Linked DNA regions of Homo sapiens: regions 1, 2, 3 and 4 are each linked to region 5. The links are contacts of gene promoters, found by promoter capture Hi-C in blood cells and fetal thymus (Javierre and others, 2016). All regions are on one chromosome and are shown on one strand. The core of a region is centred on a gene start or on the middle of the fragment in contact, and the rest is flanking DNA. Distances in the headings are between cores, read along the strand shown. Region 1 overlaps XRCC5 (X-ray repair cross complementing 5). Region 2 overlaps XRCC5 (X-ray repair cross complementing 5). Region 3 overlaps XRCC5 (X-ray repair cross complementing 5). Region 4 has its middle 7.7 kb from the start of LINC01963. Region 5 holds the start of MARCHF4 (membrane associated ring-CH-type finger 4).

Region 1 (3,448 bases), core at 732-3,231, 230 kb before region 5:
CAAAAGGGATATTTGAAAAGGTGCAGAATAGAAGTATAATGTACTTTTTAGGAACTACTTACTCTTTTCCACCTTTTGCCTGGTGACTGTGAATGTTCCAGAAATAGTGCCTCAGGTTCAACAGCTGAACTGCTGTATGAATCAGTAAAATGAAAGTTACACACAGTAGTTTAGGCAGAAGTATTTTTGGGAGAATTGCCTTTCGTCCATATTGCTTTGGGCTGTACCATTTTTATTGACTGAGTAGATTTTTATTGAGGAGCACTTGTTTTTTATTAGTATTAGGAGAGACCTAAGGAAAGAGGATGTCGTATTTCTGCTCTCATGGAACTTGAGAGTTTGAATGGAGTAGGGCAAGACATGTACGCAGGTGTGAGTAGTGTCATGGAGGCATTAAGAGAGGAGAGAGCTTATTCAGCCTCAGTAGATTGTGAAGGAATCAGCTCACCCTGATCCAATGGTGTCTTCCTGTTAAGGTGCTGTACTCTGATAAAAGTTATATTAAAGTCATTAAAATGCTTATGCTTCATTACCAGAGAGGTTTTTTCTTTTTAATGTTTTTCTTCTTTAGCTAATTACTAGTTTTTAAAATATTAGCTCAATGGATACTAAATATTTTGTTCCAGTCTCCTTATAGGGATTGGTTTTTATATGGCTGTATTCCTCTGAAACAAACTTTCTTGCTTTTGATCTGATACTCCATTGTCAGAGGCTCACTGAATGGTAGAACTGGAACCTAATCAGTCAGTCACTCTAAATCGATCTTTTCATGGATAAGAAAACCAAGACTTGGGTTAAATACGTGCATAGCTAGAGAATACTTTGGCAGGGCCAGGACTGTATAACCTGCCAATATTGCCGTGGATATCTCTACGTAGAAAGCATTTGTTTTAGTGGAGAATAATGGAAATAATCATTTTTCTTTCGGCTTCTCTGTTTAAGAGGCACAGTTGAATGCTGTTGATGCTTTGATTGACTCCATGAGCTTGGCAAAGAAAGATGAGAAGACAGACACCCTTGAAGACTTGTTTCCAACCACCAAAATCCCAAATCCTCGATTTCAGAGATTATTTCAGGTAAGAGAAGAAGGATGAACAAGTCATATTTCTTTTAAATGAAAGAGAGCTAAGTGCAAAGTTGCGGTAATTGGCCAGTCCTAAATAAATGTCTTTTTTCTCTGAAGGCCCCATTTGCTCTATTTAATGGAAGAATAACATCTTCCTCTCCTACTTCAGAAGGTAAAAATATTCTGAGCTCTTAAAAAGAAAAATAAAGTTGGAATGCTTTCTTTCTTTTCTTTTTTTTTTTTTTTTTTTTTTTTTTCCTGGAAGAAGCTTACTTTAACAAAAAAAATACAGGAAGGCCAGTTGCCTATGCTGGAGTGCAGTGTTGTGATCATAGCTCACTATAGCCTCAAACTCCTGTGCTCAAGCACTCTTCCCGCCTCAGTCTCCTGAACAGCTGGGATTGCAGGCACATGCCACCATGCCTGGCTCATTTGTAAAAATTTTTGTGAAGACAAGTCTTGGCCACGTGCGGTGGTTCATGCCTGTAATCCCAGCACTTTGGGAGGCTGAGGCAGGTGCATCACTTGAGGTCAGGAGTTCAAGACCAGCCTGGCTAACATGGTGAAACCCTGTCTCTACCAAAAAATAAAAAAATTAGCCGGGCATGGTAGCACGTGCCTGTAATCCGAGCTTCTCAGGAGGCTGAAGTGGGAGAATTGCTTGAACCTGGGAGATGGAGAGTGGAGTTAGCCGAGATCACGACCCTGTACTCCAGCCTGGGCGGCAGAATGAGACCGAGTCTTTAAAAAAAAAGAAAAAAAAAGGTTCCTAGGCTGGTCTTTAACTCCTAGGCTCAAGCATTCTGAGTAGATGGGACTCCAGGTGTATACCATTGCCCCCAGCCAGATGCCTCTTTTATATTTTTTCAGGCTTTTCTCCTGTATTGTATGTAAATAACACTTTTCTTTGTTTTCTATATCAAAATAGTAGGAGAGCTTATATGAACTCTATAATAATATAACATTGTTAGAGAAGAAGTGTTCTAATGTCACATTTCTCAAAAATTTCATAATTAAAGGGAGCATAGGGGTCAGATAAAAAGGTTATATTGTGAAATTATTAAAGAATAATTAAAATACAGAAAATATAAAAAATCTTCTGAATCTGAGTCCAAAGGAATTGGAAGGCAGAGATTGGATTAAGGTAAATTGGGGAAGTTGACAAGAGAGCTGACTTATGCTGAGGAAGGGGAGGGCTAGACCAAGGTTGAAGGAGAAAGGAATATTCCAGTCCTGGATTCAGTTGATGACAGCAGGACATAGGCTTCTCTGACCCCCACAAAACTGAAAAAAAAATTATATAAGCAGCTTTTTAAGGCAAGCTGTTGCTCACAGAGGAGTAGAGGGCCCTTTTCTGCAGGTTGGGGGTAACAGGGCATGTGCTGCAGAGACCACAGATTCTCCCTTATGACTCACTTCATGAAACATCTGTAACTAACTTAAGTCCATATTGGGGCTTGTGATTTGAGGGATCCTCTACTTGAAAGAAACTGCCTGTTTTTTTGATGCTTGTAATTCTTTTAAGTAGTGAAAAAAATCTTTTGTTCTAAAATTAGAGATGTGAAGCTTAACATGTGAAGACTTGACTCTGAATACTCATGCCCCTCAGTTTATGATGGGGATACACGCCTATAAACCCATCTAAGTTGAGAATATAAGTTGAAAATGCATTTACTACACCTAACCTACCAATCATCATAGCTTAGCCTCACCTACTTTAAATGTGCTCAAAACACTTCACATTAGCCTACAGTTGGGCAGAATCATCTGACAATATCATGCACTGTAAAGGTTGTCTACCCTTGGGAGCTGCAGCTTGATATCACTGCCCAGCATTGTAAGTGTCCTACTGAGTTCTACTGAATGAGTATCGCTTTCACACTGTTGTAAAGTGGAAAAATTGTAAATTGAACCATCATAAACCAGGGACCATCTGTACTCTAGCATGCTAAGTGTAATGAAGTATAAATTACAGATATAAAAATCCTTTGGTGTTTTTTTGGCAAATGTACTTGAAGACCTAAAGCCTTGTGCCATTTGTAGGAAAGGTAGGAGCAGACCAGTTCAAAGCTTACCAAAATGGTTCACTGTGGAGAAAAAGAGAAACTTCTATTAATACTATTTTGCACACTTATCTACAGTAGGTTGTATTTATCTTTAATAAATGCTTATTGGAATAACAAACAGATACAAGCCATAAATGCAGGCATTTTTATATTCCAAAGCTGCTGCAAGCACGGGCTTTGATTTTTATTAGTTTGTTTTGTGGGGGAGAGTTTTTAATGTGGCTTATCTATATAAAGAAGTATCTTCACTAGGATACATAAACTTAAAAAAAACTTATTTATTGAGTACTAACAATGAACCACGTGCGAAAGATAC
Region 2 (3,723 bases), core at 865-3,364, 170 kb before region 5:
ATTTGTATAACATCTTAAGAGCTATTACCCTCCAGTTTTTCTAGAAATATGTGGATTGTATGATTCTTTGAGAAATAGAAGGAAGTCAGCTCTGCTACAGAAATAGAAAGTTTTTGCATGGCGTGAGTTTAGACAGTCACTTTCTTTTAAGTTTCCTGGTACCTCTCATTTCATTTTGAAACCTAGGCATAAATCATTCTTTAATGTTCATTTTTATTATCATTATAACCTGTCAGTTCTTCCACTTTTTCTGTTTCTAGTTTATATGATTAGATATGCCATTAGCATTTGATGTTTGGTAGAATCTTTGTATAGCCTTTGTGTGCTCTTCATCTGTCAGTTCTCCTGGCTCTGTAGTGGGTGGAAGAGGTAAAGTGATGTGTCTGAGAGCTCACAGTAAGTCACCGGCCAGGAATCTAGTTCTAGCACTGCCCTAGTCCTTCATTCTCCTTTAGTATTGAGAAAGCAGTGAAGAAAGAGGATTTATCCCCATGGCATTGGGATCTTTTTTTTTTTTTTTTTTTTTTTTACCAGATTCCAAGAGGCTGAGCTATATCTAAATAATCATTTGATGTAAGCTCTGTGAAAAAAAAATCATTATTTTAGCACTTATTTTTCTTGTAACTGCCTAATTTATCCTTCTTTATTGTTGTTGACATTTATGGATTTTCCACCTTAGTATCACAGACATTCATAGATAGCAATTGGCCATTTTACCAATTGGTGTTGGCCATTTTACCAACACCCCTGTCTAGAGAGGTAAAGTTTTCTGTGCCTCACAGCAAGCTAGTGGCCAGCAGAATTGACTGGAATCCAGACCCCCAGATGCCCGCTGTAGTCGCCTTATCACCACACCATGGCACCAGCTCTTCACGCCTTCACCTTATAATGCCGCCAACCACATCTACCTAGAGAAAGGATGCTCATGCTCCCTTTTTCAAGAGTACATCTGGTTCTGTGTGTGAGAGTGCACAGGAATTCTCCAAAGCTTAGTGAAGGATTGAAGACAAAGGTTAAGAATCATTTCTTGAGAGCAGTTTTGTCAAACTGCTGGCCCCTGTTGGAACCTGTGACATTTTTCTTTGCTTTTTTCTGCTTTCATTTTCTGCCTTAATTCTCTGGTGTAGTTTGCTAGTACAAGAAAAGTAATAATGAAAATATCACAGTGTTACCCAATATTTATTTAAGGCTTGATACATTTAAGATATGATATTAAATTTTTTATTGAGGTAGAACATGTGTACAGTAAATGCACAGATCTTAACTGTGCAACTTGATGAATTCTTACACATTCATGTACCTGGGTGCTCACCACCCAGATCAAAATAATAGAACATTTCCATCACCACATAAGCCTCCCTGGTACCTTCCTAGTCAGAAGCCCCCATCCCTTGAGGTAACCACTATTCTGACTTCTGTCACTTGAGAGTCATCTGGCCTGTTTTTGACCTTCATATAATTGGAATCATGCCTTTTTTTCATCAATTATGTGATTATAGCTATGTAGTAATCCCTTTTATGATTTTACCACAATTTATTCATCCATTCTCCTAATGATGGACATTTGCTTGTTTGTCCTTTGGCAGTTATGAATAAAGATGCTGTGGATATTCTTGTACATACCACTTGGTGGACATATGTTAAGTGTATTCCTAGGAATTAGAACATGAAACTTACAATACCATAATGAATTTTTTCATACTTTAGTTTATCTGAGACTCAACAACCCCTAAGATAGGTATGGTAAGTAGTAGTATTCACATTTTGTTTTTGAGCGAAATTAGTTATGAAAAGGTCAGGTGGCTTGCGTAAGGTTCCTGAGAAACTGACAGGGTTATAGTTGTGTTCTCCACACTAGGCTGCAGGATTTCCCTCTTGCACCATGTTAGTGTTTATAGCATCCATTAAGCTACAAGTGGCATTAATGAAACCCAAATATATGTCATTTTAGGCAAAGTACATGCAAACTGACTTTTATTCTTTTTGATGCTTTTTTACACATCTAGATTGTCAGTAATCCTTTGGAATCACCTGATGGTGTTGGAAACAACCCAGTGGAAGTCATGTGTTTTTACTTTGGGGGTCAGTAAGGGTCTGAGCACAAGATGATAGTCTTTTAGTCTTATGGTGGTATAGGACTGGCAGTTTCTATATAGAGGTTATTGATTTCATTACTCTGCTTGTGGCCAGGATTATATTTCAGTGTACTTGAAAAGTAGTAGGTTATCCATTTCATAAAGTTCTCCAGGTAAGGAGGCACTTTTATGGTAACCCCAGGTAAGTGATGGTGGTTTGAGGAAGAAGGAATATGTCACTCACACACATGCCCTTTCTATCTGTTCTCTACTTTCTCAGCATATTGCAGAGGGAAAGAACACATGAGAAAAGATGAGAATTGACTCCTACCCCTTTCTGCAGAAGAGATTCGGAGAATCTCTTGCTTTTATTGAGAAAGCAGGCCAGTCATTGAGTTCTCTGCTCTATCTTGCTTCCCTGTCACTGCATGGGCTAGAATTACTTGCAGTTACAAACATTAATGATGAGGAGTGATATGTGGAAGAGATCAGCCTTGCCTGGGGCATTGGGAAGGATAATGGATGGCAGCCCAGCTTTTAAACATAATTTGCTTACACAGAAATGTGAAGCAGATCTGTCAGGAAAATCAGTTGCAGACGATACTTAGCACTTAATGAAAATGTAGGATTTTTGTTGCTGCTCATTTCTTCCTAGGAATTTGGCCTAGTCTCAGAGATGTGCCATTTGTGCTTAAGTATATATACCATGGTCATACTGTGCCAACAATAAGTCCTTATCTAAGGGGTCATACAAGATGTAGTGGACTACAGAACCATTAAGCCTATGGAGTTTTTCAGATGTTTGGAAGATACCAGTCATTTGTGGCCCTACAGAGATTTATGGCAGGATGCAGCTCTACTGTTTATTCTCTTGCCCCAACTGGATAAGTCTTATCCTGTAGCCATATAGTCCTGATATCACGAAAATCATGCAGGGGTTAATGACAATGAGTAGGAGAGGAGAGGTACAACATAAAAAGTATGATAATAACCCGGAAAACCCCAAATAAAAACCCATTTGAGAATCTAGGATAGAGTAGTTTATTTAACCTTTACAGATAAATCATATGCTAGTAAATGTATAGATTTTTTATTCATTTATCTGTATTTGGCTGTCAGATATCTTTATTCATAATCACCCAGAATAAACAGAATGAATGAAACAGAAGCTTCATCACAATTCTGTTACAGACTGTCTGCCTCCATTGCTGGGATTTCCTCTCTCTTATACCATTGATTCTCAGTCTTGCACATGGCCCAGTTTAGGGTCAACAAAGAGCTATGGAAAGATCCATAAATGTCCTTAAAAGAAGATAAATTCCTTATTCGCTCAGTCATAAAAGAAGTTAATGAATAGTGAGGTGGTCTTAACTGAGGGAAAAAAAGTCCAAGAGAGTGGTTGAGTCAACAAACAATTATGTCCATGGTGCTGACAAAGGCACTGCACCTTAAGGCAGACACAGCCTCCACTGTTATCACTTTGTTACCTGTGTGTGTTTTTGTATATGAGGACTAGAAGAACAGGCAGAGCTTTCTTGCTTCCTGAAACTTGCCACATGCAGCCTCATATTTCATGGTTGACTTTGGTTTGACTTTTTAAAGAGACATATTTTAGTTTATTTATAGGTCTTAGGTTTCAGAGGTCATG
Region 3 (3,495 bases), core at 423-2,922, 210 kb before region 5:
ATGCATATGATAATTAGCTTAATTTAGCTATTTCACAATAAATGCATATTTTAAAACATTTTGTACATGATAATATATACAATTTTTATGTTAAAATAAATGAATTTTTAAAATTTCTAGATCTTGGTTACTAATTCTCTTATCATTTAGCCATTTCTGATGGCTGCTTTTGCCCTAGATTGCATTTCTCTCTGGGAGAAAAAAATCTTAATTTCTTTATGTTCAGCAGCTTAAGGGAGATTACAGGCAGAGTCTTTGGATTTGATTTTCTTCTCTTTTGCAATTAACTTGACCTCCTCTTGACTTTAAGACAGGCTGTTAAAGCCAGCATGTTGCTTGAGGCAAGATGTTTGATATACTTTTCCTTAGCACACAGATGCTACTGGACTGTTAGCATATTGCACAAAACAGAATTAGGTTTATAAAAGAACAAATTAAAAAGTTTTCGGGGAAGTTTTTTTTTTATAGTTTACGACTTCTTTAAGAGGGAAAGCTCTTGCATAGTTAATTAAGGATTGTCTAGTAAGTTTTGACAGTTGTAAACAGAGGCTTATAAAGCTCTAACATACATGATAGAGAAAACGGGTTGTTAGACACAAAGGTCTTCTGTGTACATGGAAAGCTAATAGCTGTCAATTCTGAGACAGGAACTAGAAAATAATATCTGAAGAGTAAATGGATTTCTTACTTAAATGTTAAATTTCCATTATCTGTGCTTGCAGTTTCATCTTTTCCAAGGACCTTATGATGTGATTGCTTAATTCTGATTCTCATACTGCTGTGAAACAAAGCCAGGGCTGCCTCAAGTTAGGCCCTTAGGAGCCCGGTGGCTAGGAAAGGGAGGCAGCTTGTTTGTAGAAGGACTACATGTAGCTATTGTTTTTCTTTTCTTTTTCTTCTTCATTATTTTTCTTTTCTTCTTCTTCTTTTTTCTTTTTTTTTTTTGGTGCTTGGAAAATAAGTTTCACAATAGCAATCTGGTTTTGTATTGTTTGTTCTAAGAGAAATTTTTTTTTTCTTTTCTAGCCATGAAGATGGACCTACAGCTAAAAAATTAAAGACTGAGCAAGGGGGAGCCCACTTCAGCGTCTCCAGTCTGGCTGAAGGCAGTGTCACCTCTGTAAGCTAAGCTTTTCAAGTGCGCTTCCCCCTTTGCAGGAAGGTTGGGGCTTGAGGGAGAGTGCATCAATTTTTGTTAGTCCGTTCTTACCACTTTCAAGTTAAGATCATGATCACTTTCTCTGGTCCTTGCTCTATAGAAGCCAAAAAGACCCATTCCATACTTCTTTAAGTAATTATTATCATGAATTGCCTACAGAATTATCTATATGATATAAGGTATATAGAGCTCTTTATAGAACGTGGAACATCTCAGTGTTGAGATTTTGCTGTTGGCATTATTTTGCAGCTTTTCAACTAGTCAAAATGATAGGATAAGTGGGGGTTAGTGATACGAGCCTTAATCTTCAAGTACACACAATTTAAGTTAGTATAACTTTCCTATTTTCTAACATGCAACTTTAGAACAGGATTCACAAGTTTAGGATTTCCCCAAGAATGTATCCTTTGATACATGAGATTTTTATTGAATGAGAAATTTTTTGGAACTTGAAAATACTACCTTAATTAATTAATTAATTAATTAATTAATTTTTATATCTTGGTCAGCCAGGAGGAAGAATATTTTATTTAATTTTAGAGATAGGTTGTCACTGTCACCCACGCCGGAGTACAGTAGTGTGATTTTAGCTCACTGCAGCCTTGAAATCCTGAGCTCAAGTGGTCCTCCTGCCTCAGCCTCCTGTGTAGCTAGGACTAAGGGTACATGCCACCATACCCGGCTATTTTTCATAGAGGTGGGGTCTCAGTATGTTACTCCTGGGCTCAAGCAATCCTCCCGCTTCAGCCTCCCGAAGCACTGGGATTATAGTCATGAGTCACTGCACCCAGCCAAATAGTGCCTTGTTCTAAGCAGCATTAGTGTGAATCAACAAATCTTAAAAATTGGCCGATAACTTTTTAACACAATGTACTAGGAAGGATAGTCAGGGAATAAAGGGCATGCCTTTATTCTCACCTCAAACAGAAACTCAGAAAAATTGAATGTGTGAAAAATGATTTAGATTTCATTTAGATGTTTTATATATAATAGTAAAGGAAAAAGTCATGATCTTGTTCTGAGAGCTTTTCTGCTTCCTATATCCAAGCAAACTGGAAGCTTTAGTATATTTTGGAACCCCATTGTTTTCTTTCTTATGAGCTGAGTGGTTCTTAGGCCCTGTGAGGGTTGGGGCCAGCAGATTAAAAACATAGGTATAATCAGAAAGTTCCATATAATATGGCAGTTTCGTCTTTCAAACTTCCTCACCCAGCACTGCAGTACATCTTTGTACATAATCTGCTTTTACTTTCTGAGGACATGTTCAACCTGGGTATGCTTTGTATATTCTACCAAAACTTCAGTGCCAAAGGGTCAGCAGCAGTCCCACTAATGGGCACTTCGGTGAATCAGGCATTAAGCTGTATTTCTCATGTTATCTTAGTGGGGCAAATCTATTCGAAACCGACCCCACACTGCAGAATCCTCGGCTTTCTAATTGGTTGGGTGACAGGATATACAGGCAGTCTGTGCTACACAAAGCCTTCCAGCTGGGCTGGCTGGTGGCTTGAGTTGTAATACTTTTTTGACCCTTCTGGAAAGAAATCAGCTTTCATAAAGCAAGGTGAGTGAAAGCACAGAGGGCAGCTCTTGGACCACTGAAATCTGCCGGCCTTTCACAGAGCCCTAGAAATGAAAATGAATAGAAAAGCCCTTCTCTTTGTCTTTGGTTTTATTTTATAAGAGCACACTTATTACATTAAGCCATCTTGTATTGCCTGGGGTGCTGCTAAAAAGAGAAATAACCTGTAGGTTTATCATCTGTTGGTATATTTTAGGTTGGAAGTGTGAATCCTGCTGAAAACTTCCGTGTTCTAGTGAAACAGAAGAAGGCCAGCTTTGAGGAAGGTGAGTGGTTGACTTTGCATTTAGGAGAAGCTGTTTAGTTAAGCTAACTAATTTAAAGTCTAGATTAAGAACTGTAGCCTTTTGTTGTAACACTTTAGCATTTTTCTTTACTGGCGGATCTTTGTGGTTTTCCCTTGTTAGGGAGCTCACTGAGGCAACATTATGAGCACATGAAAGTGAACTCAGCACAGATTTTCTCAAAAGGAACTAATTTGTAGGTCTCCCTACAGAAAAACTTTGGGCCAACACCTTGGCGCTTATAGCTCCACTTCATTGAAGTTTTTTAGGATTTTGTCGTGAGCTATAAATAAAACACTTTTATGTCACATCTTCCTATTTTATTTTCTTCCTTTTTTTTCTTTTTTTTTTTGAGATGGAGTTTCTCTCTTGTTGCCCAGGCTGGAGTGCAATGGCATGATTTCAGCACACCACAACCTCTGCCTCCCGAGTTGAAGCGATTCTCCTACCTCAGCCTCCCGAGTAGCTGG
Region 4 (3,588 bases), core at 267-2,766, 150 kb before region 5:
GATTAAGTTTTGTTTCAAGAGTAGTAGAAGAGCATGGGGACTGAGACAGTCAGAAGAGGTGATATAGAAACAGACACAGAATTTGTTTGACCAAAGGCAAACCTGACAGCTTTTCTGGGTTGTGAGGGCACAGTAAAGTACCTAATCATTTCCTGTGACTTCATTCCAGTGAGACATCCACGTTGGAACTCACTGTGATGTGCCAGGAGCTGTGGGCTGCACAAAAAAGAAGTGTGGTGCCTCTCCTGTGTGTTTCCAGAGGTGGCAGGGTTTATTCCCAGAGTCTGAGTCCTTCTTTCCCCTCTGTGTTCTCACTACAGAGATAAGCAAACCATGATCATAGCCAGTTGGGGACCAAAACCACAACCTTATTTATGGCCAGGAAATCCCCTAGCTTTTCCCCAAATGCAGGGCTTCTGGTTCTATGGGCTGAAGATCTCTGCTTGGGCCTGAGGCCTTACCTAGCAGCTTTGCAGCTCATTAGCAGAACACAGAGAGTGATGGGAACATCGCTATATTAAGACTGTGATGGTTAATTATATATCCATAATTATTGACTGGGTTAAGTGATGTCCGGATAGCTATAAAACCTTCTCAGAGTAACTGTGAGGGTGTGTCTGGAAGAGATGAGCATTTGTATCAGTAGTAATGAAGATTTACCCTCACCCATGTGGGTGGCCATCATCCAATCTGTTGAGAGCCTGGACAGAACAAAAGGCAGAGGAAGGGTGAATTTGTTCTCCCTCTTGGAGCTGAGGCATCCATCTTCTGCCCTCAGACATTGGCACTCCTGGTTCTCAGGCTTTCAGATAATTACACCACTGGCTTTCCTGGTTCTCCAACTTGCAGATAGCATATCATGGGTCTTCTCAGCCTCCATAATCATGTGAGCCAGTTCCTATTTTATATATATATATATCCTATTTCTGGGGAAACCTGACAAATACAAGGATGTAAAATGATGAGTTTGCTGTGCTTGAGCACAAGAGTCAAGAAAACAGAGTGAAACCCTCTTTTGAATCCCAATACTCCCCACTCCTGGGAGGAGTAGAAAGCCCTAAGAGGATGATCCTCCTGCTCCACTTAGAGGATTTGAGGATCCGATTCCCACCAATCTGTCTCTGCTTCATTAGGGTGGGCTTGCCTGGGGAAGAGACTGCAAGAAATATAAAGGAGAGTAAGGAGGCCAGGTATGGTGGTGATTTGGGCTCTTCTTCGGTTCCATATTAATTTTAGAAATGGTTTTTCTATTTCTGTGAAAAATGGCATCCCTATAATCCCAGCACTTTGGGAAGCCAAGGTAGGCGGATTGCTTGAGCCCAGGAGTTGGAGACCAGCCTGGACAACATGGCGAAATCCTGTCTCTACGATAATAATAATAATACGAAAATGAGCTGCACAATGGTGGTGCACAGTTGTAGTCCCAACTACCCAGGAGGCTGAGATGGGAGGATTGATTGAGCCCAGGAGGTCGAGACTGCAGTGAGCTGTGACCGTTCCACTGCACTCCAGCCTGGGCAACAGAGTGAGGCTCTGTCTTAAAAACAAACAAGCAAACAAAAAAAGGAGAGTAAGGCAATGAGACTGAGACTGACTCACATAGACCTTGCTCTCTGGCATTGGTCATTCTAGAATCCAACAGAAATAATGGCCTGGATGATGCTCCAATTAATTGCTTTCTGACCCTGAGATGGCACCCCCATCGCCAGTCAAAGTTTTAATTAATCATGCCAGCAGATGGGCTGTCATGGGCCCCAGCAGCCTGATAATGAACTCATTTATTATCAGCTCTGTCAGTGGGAGGTTGTCCAGGCTTCTGGGAAAAGAAGAGACTCCTGATGCCAGAGCCCAGGATATGTGCAGTTTGGGAAAATCTCTGGAAATACCTTGACTTTATACCTTTCATTGGTCCTTAAGAAAGGAGGGAAGGTGTGGAAAAAGATTGTGGCTCAGGCTGGAAGAAGAGGTCTTGATATCACAGTTTCTTAGATGGTGCTAGAGATAGCCTGGCTCTCTGGTACCCCTGGCACCCACCTGACTCATGAAGTTAGGGTAACACATGGCATGTATTCTTTTTTTTTTTTTTGAGATGGAGTCTCGCTCTGTCCCCCAGGCTGGAGTGTAATGGCACAGTCTCGGCTCACAGCAACATCCGCCTCCTGGGTTCAAGCAATTCTCTGCCCTAGCCTCCTGAGTAGCTGGGATTACAGGTGCTCGCCACCACACCCGGCTAGTTTTTTTGTATTTTTAGTAGAGATGGGGTTTCACCGCCTTGGCCAGGATGGTCTCGAACTCCTGACCTCGTGATCCACCCACCTAGGCCTCCCAAAGTGCTAGGATTACAAGTGTGAGCCACCGCGCCCAGCCCATGCCATGTGTTCTTTTTTTTTTTTTTTTTTTTTTTTTTTTATTTTTTATTTTTATTGATCATTCTTGGGTGTTTCTCGCAGAGGGGGATTTGGCAGGGTCATAGGACAATAGTGGAGGGAAGGTCAGCAGATAAACAAGTGAACAAAGGTCTCCGGTTTTCCTAGGCAGAGGACCCTGCGGCCTTCCACAGTGTTTGTGTCCCTGGGTACTTAAAGATTAGGGAGTGGTGATGACTCTTAACGAGCATGCTGCCTTCAAGCATCTGTTTAACAAAGCACATCTTGCACCGCCCTTAATCCATTTAACCCTGAGTGGACACAGCACATGTTTCAGAGAGCACAGGGTTGGGGATAAGGTCACAGATCAACAGGATCCCAAGGCAGAAGAATTTTTCCTAGTACAGAACAAAATGAAAAGTCTCCCATGTCTACTTCCATCCACACAGACCCGGTAACCATCCGATTTCTCAATTCTTTCCCCACCCTTCCCGCCTTTCTATTCCACAAAACCGCCATTGTCATCATGGCCCATCACCAATGAGCCGCTGGGCACACCTCCCAGACGGGGTCGTGGCCGGGCAGAGGGGCTCCTCACTTCCCAGTAGGGGCGGCCGGGCAGAGGCGCCCCTCACCTCCTGGATAGGGCGGCTGGCCGGGCGGGGGGCTGTCCCCCCCACCTCCCTCCCGGACGGGGCGGCTGGCCGGGCAGAGGGGTCCTCACTTCCCAGTAGGGGCGGCCGGGCAGAGGCGCCCCTCACCTCCCGGACGGGGCGGCCGGCCGGAAGGGGGGCTGACCCCCCCACCTCCCTCCCGGACGGGGCGGCTGGCCGGGCAGAGGGGTCCTCACTTCCCAGTAGGGGCGGCCGGGCAGAGGCGCCCCTCACCTCCCGGACGGGGCGGCTGGCCAGGAAGGGGGCTGATCCCCCCACCTCCCTCCCGGACGGGGCGGCTGGCCGGGCGGGGGGCTGACCCCCCCCACCTCCCTCCCGGACGGGGCGGCTGGCCGGGCAGAGGGGTCCTCACTTCCCAGTAGGGGCGGCCGGGCAGAGGCGCCCCTCACCTCCCGGACGGGGCGGCTGGCCAGGCAGGGGGCTGATCCCCCCACTTCCCTCCCGGACGGGGCGGCTGGCCGGGCGGGGGGCTGACCCCCCCCACCTCCCTCCCGGACGGGGCGGCTGGCCGGGCGGGGGGCTGACCCCCCCACCTCCCTCCCGGATGG
Region 5 (3,503 bases), core at 502-3,001:
CAATTGTAAATCAAATCTGGAGTGGATTGAGCTGGGCTTAGAGAAAACTAGCTCAATGAAGAATTGAGGACTGCATGTGTGAGAGAGAAAAGATCGTTTTTCTCAGGTGGTAGGGGTTGGGGGAGTCAAGGTAGGGGAGGAGAGAAGATTGGGAGAAGTTTTAATTCTCCTGGGCAGAAAACTGGGGCAATTAACCCCCAGAAGCACCAGAGTTGCTTTTAAGAGAGCAGTTGGGTGGGGGAGGGGTGTTGCAGGTGAAACTGGGCTAGGGGCTTGTGCTTTGCCTCCGCAGCCAAAGGGTTACACCGAAGAGGGGAAAGCCAATTAGGAGAAGGGAGGTAAAATAGAGGTTTGGGAAGGAAAAAGGATGGGAGAAAAAGAAAAGATCGTTTAACCCTTGCAGAGGCGCCTCCTTCCTGAGCATGAAGATCCTGGCTAGAGGAAGGGTGTGTGTACCGGGGTGAGAGGGCAGTGGAGCAGAGAATAGGGGTAGAGGAGAGGGGCGTGTGGGAGAGAACAGGAGAAAGGAGTGGTTACATTATCTCAGCCCCCAGCCCACCCCTGCTGCAGTCGGCAAATCCGTGGCGCCCTCCCCTCGGTTCCATCAAAGGTCCCTTCGGTCGAGGGGCAAGAGCCGAGAGAAGGGCAGGTCCGGGCGGGCGAGTGGCCTCGCCTTCTCCTCCTCTTCCTCCTCTGGGTCGCGGTCGCCCTCCTCCTCCGGCTCCGGGTCGGCCCGCGCCCGCAGCTGCTGCTGCGGCGGCGGAGGCGACTGCTGCTCGGCGTCCGGGTGTCTCCGGGGCGGGGGCTGCTCCGGCTCGTCCTCTGGCTGCTGCCCGCCGTCCGGCGCGGTCGCGACTCCGGCCTTCATGATCCTCCTCCTCCTCCCCCTTCCCTGGGGGCCAGCCCTGAGCCCCCGCGCCCGGGCAGCGCTGCCATGCAACCAGAGGCGAGGCCGGCGTGGGGGTGGGGGCGGCTGGGGAGTGAGGAGGGGGAGTAATAAAAAATGAAATAATACTAGTGGAATAATTCGGTTCTCAGGCAAGAGTGCTTCTGGAGGGTGGGGGCGGAGGAGGGCGGCTGCCGGGTCTGCTCGGCAGCTCTGCCCCCGCTACCCCCACCAAGGGCGGCCTCGGCCCGCTCTCTGCCCCCCCACCCCGCCCCTTCCTCCTCTCCACCGCCTCTGGCTGGCTAGGCTCGCTGTTGCTACCTCTCCTCGCAGATGCAACGAGGTAAGGCTTGTTTGCGGTGCCAGCTGAAGGTGGGGAGGGGGGAGCGAAGCAGTGTGGCCGAGGTGGGAGGCAGCCGGCACTTGGCTCCAGCTTGGTCCTCGCGACTCCCCAAAACCGTATATAAATATATCTCTTATAAAAGCCGAGAGGAAGCAAATCAGATTCCAGGCTGCTGCCAGGTGTTGTCTCGTCTTCCGCCGTTGCTCAGCACCCGCCGCTGCCCCCACTGGCTCGATTCCCAAAGGGGTGGTGCTGGAAGGGAGGTGGCGGGGCGGCGAGCTGACCGTCCGAGAACTGGAAACAAGGTTCTTGCAGCGAGGGAGGCTCTCGGCTATCTCCGCCGCCGGCGCCGCGGCCGCCGCTGCTGCATTCAGCACCCCGGGCGAGTGGACAGCTCCCACCCAGACCCCGCGCGTCACGCTCGTGGGGGCCTGACGCAGACGCCGCGGAGGGATGGAGGAGGGAAAGGGGATGAGAGGAAAAGAAGCTGGAGGGAGAGGGAGCAAGAGGAGGAGAGAACTGTGCGAGGGAAGGGGATGGGGAGGGACCAAGGGAAAGGGAGGTAACCAGGAGAGGGAGGGATTTAGGAAGGGAAGGAGGAGGGAGCGAAGTGAAGAGTAAAAGAAAGAAGGAGAAAGGCCACGGGGAGGGAGGGGAGCGATTCAGGCACTAACTCTTGCATTTCACCTCAGCAGGAACGTGTCGGTGTGGAAGGTCTGGTTGTAGACTCTCTGCCCACTGTCCACTATCACAGCTCCTCTCATTGCACATACAAGACACAGACACCTGTCAACCAGAGACCGTTTCTCTGTTCACATAAACATTTAAAGTAGATCTCAGTCTGCAAGCTTTCGAGGAGATAAAGTTTTGTGACTTCCACAATGAAGCTGGGACTTGATGGAGATTAAATTCCTCATGACTAAGGAAATGCTTGAGACATGAGACATGAGAAGGAAATGTTTCATTGAGGCTTGAGACATGAGAAGGAAATGCTTCAAATTTTCAAACAGGGAGGAGGTTGCTAGTACCATTTTTTTGTCAGCTTCTTCGCCTAGAATTTAAGCTCCAATTGACAGAGATAATTTTTTTAATTCATTTGATCCCGTGTGCCTAAGTCAGAGATGGCATCTAGTAAATGTTCAATGCATATTTGTTGAATGGCTTGTGGCCACCATCACCACAGTCATCATTACTATAAGTCACAGTGCTCTTTCAATTGTGAGTCATAAGAATCCAGAGCAATATTTCAGCTTCGTCTTCACCAACATCCCCAGCCTCCTCCCTATTCAAGCCTTTCACTGAGCCGCTGACAAGAGGTAATTTGAAATGGATTTTAATTTCCTCTCCTATTTCTGCTACTGACTCATGTCACCCTACCCTATTTTTCTCAAGGAGTTTCTTGAGCAGCAAAGTGCCCCTAAATGTGAAGAGCAAGAAAAAGAAGGAAACTTAAAGTGGTCTATATAAAACCTCAGTGTTTGCAGCTGTAGACTTTGGTCACTGAAAACTTAGGATTGCTTTTTTTGCCTTTCCTTATAAACCTCTCTCCCCCACCCCGCTCTCTCTCTCTCTCTCTCTCTCTCACACACACACACACACACACACACACACCCCTCTAGGGCCATAGAGAAGATATGCCAGTGATTCATCCAAACAGCCATGGTAATGCCTTTACAAATATTGGAGCCATAGACAGAGTAGCATGCAAAATTTCTGCAGCAAAATATCATTGGAACGAAGTTCAGTCCAATGAGTCATAAGAAAACTACCCCTTTGCTGCCATCTCTATGAAATGATTCATTCCTACAAGCTCTAAGGAGAAAGGACCTACATCTCAGTCTTGGTTAACCCAGCATGGCTACTTGTCTGAATCATGCCCCAGGACTCACCATGGATGCTGAGACCCAGCCCAAGGTGCTCATTTAAAGATGATACTAATATTTTTAATAACTACAAAATAATATTTATTGATTAATATCAGCACAAATACTGTGCAGCAACAAAAAACCTCTTTATTTCAAAAATTCTATTTGTTCTTCAAGAAAATATTTTGTGTTCCACATCACTCTGTATCTGTTTCTGGTATTGCAGAAATCATAGTCTATATAATAATTATCTCACCATACATTCATCTCCCTTTGTCTGACTCAGAGCTTCTTTAAGGCTGGGATCAGTATCTATATTTGTATCACCAGCACATAATGCAGCACCTGAAGTTAAGTAGGTGTTCAAGAAAATGGACTCTGAATAAATAAGTGGCTTTTTTATTTCAGT

Evidence for each region. The method cuts DNA at HindIII sites, captures the fragments that hold promoters and counts their contacts. A CHiCAGO score of 5 or more calls a contact.
Region 1: a contact is called between a fragment that was not itself captured here and the fragment with the promoter of MARCHF4 in region 5, in 2 of 17 cell types (endothelial precursors and activated CD4 T cells). The highest score is 7.3, in endothelial precursors.
Region 2: a contact is called between a fragment that was not itself captured here and the fragment with the promoter of MARCHF4 in region 5, in 4 of 17 cell types (endothelial precursors, activated CD4 T cells, total CD8 T cells and 1 more). The highest score is 8.3, in endothelial precursors.
Region 3: a fragment that was not itself captured here is called in contact with the fragment with the promoter of MARCHF4 in region 5 in 2 of 17 cell types (endothelial precursors and activated CD4 T cells); the score reaches 5.9 in endothelial precursors.
Region 4: a fragment that was not itself captured here is called in contact with the fragment with the promoter of MARCHF4 in region 5 in 4 of 17 cell types (activated CD4 T cells, endothelial precursors, megakaryocytes and 1 more); the score reaches 7.1 in activated CD4 T cells.

What each region holds. Positions count from the first base shown.
Region 1 is chr2:216,140,244-216,143,691 of GRCh38, forward strand. It overlaps XRCC5 (X-ray repair cross complementing 5), which reads left to right. Exons shown (of 21, transcript NM_021141.4): 13 at 943-1,076. Among named protein-coding and RNA genes, the nearest start is that of XRCC5, 33 kb to the left of the region's middle. RefSeq lists enhancers at 2,196-2,315, 2,486-2,595. The HindIII fragment of the contact is 1,298 bases long and covers 1,333-2,630 here.
Region 2 is chr2:216,199,306-216,203,028 of GRCh38, forward strand. The region is part of intron 19 of XRCC5 (X-ray repair cross complementing 5); the gene reads left to right. Among named protein-coding and RNA genes, the nearest start is that of LINC01963, 16 kb to the right of the region's middle. The HindIII fragment of the contact is 2,256 bases long and covers 987-3,242 here.
Region 3 is chr2:216,159,042-216,162,536 of GRCh38, forward strand. It overlaps XRCC5 (X-ray repair cross complementing 5), which reads left to right. Exons shown (of 21, transcript NM_021141.4): 15 at 1,027-1,120; 16 at 2,938-3,007. Among named protein-coding and RNA genes, the nearest start is that of XRCC5, 51 kb to the left of the region's middle. The HindIII fragment of the contact is 1,088 bases long and covers 1,129-2,216 here.
Region 4 is chr2:216,222,838-216,226,425 of GRCh38, forward strand. No RefSeq gene overlaps it. Among named protein-coding and RNA genes, the nearest start is that of LINC01963, 7.7 kb to the left of the region's middle. RefSeq lists an enhancer at 275-484. The HindIII fragment of the contact is 7,342 bases long and covers 1-3,588 here.
Region 5 is chr2:216,370,732-216,374,234 of GRCh38, forward strand. MARCHF4 (membrane associated ring-CH-type finger 4) reads right to left here and starts at 1,752. Exons shown (of 4, transcript NM_020814.3): 1 at 1-1,752. The HindIII fragment of the contact is 3,541 bases long and covers 1-2,075 here.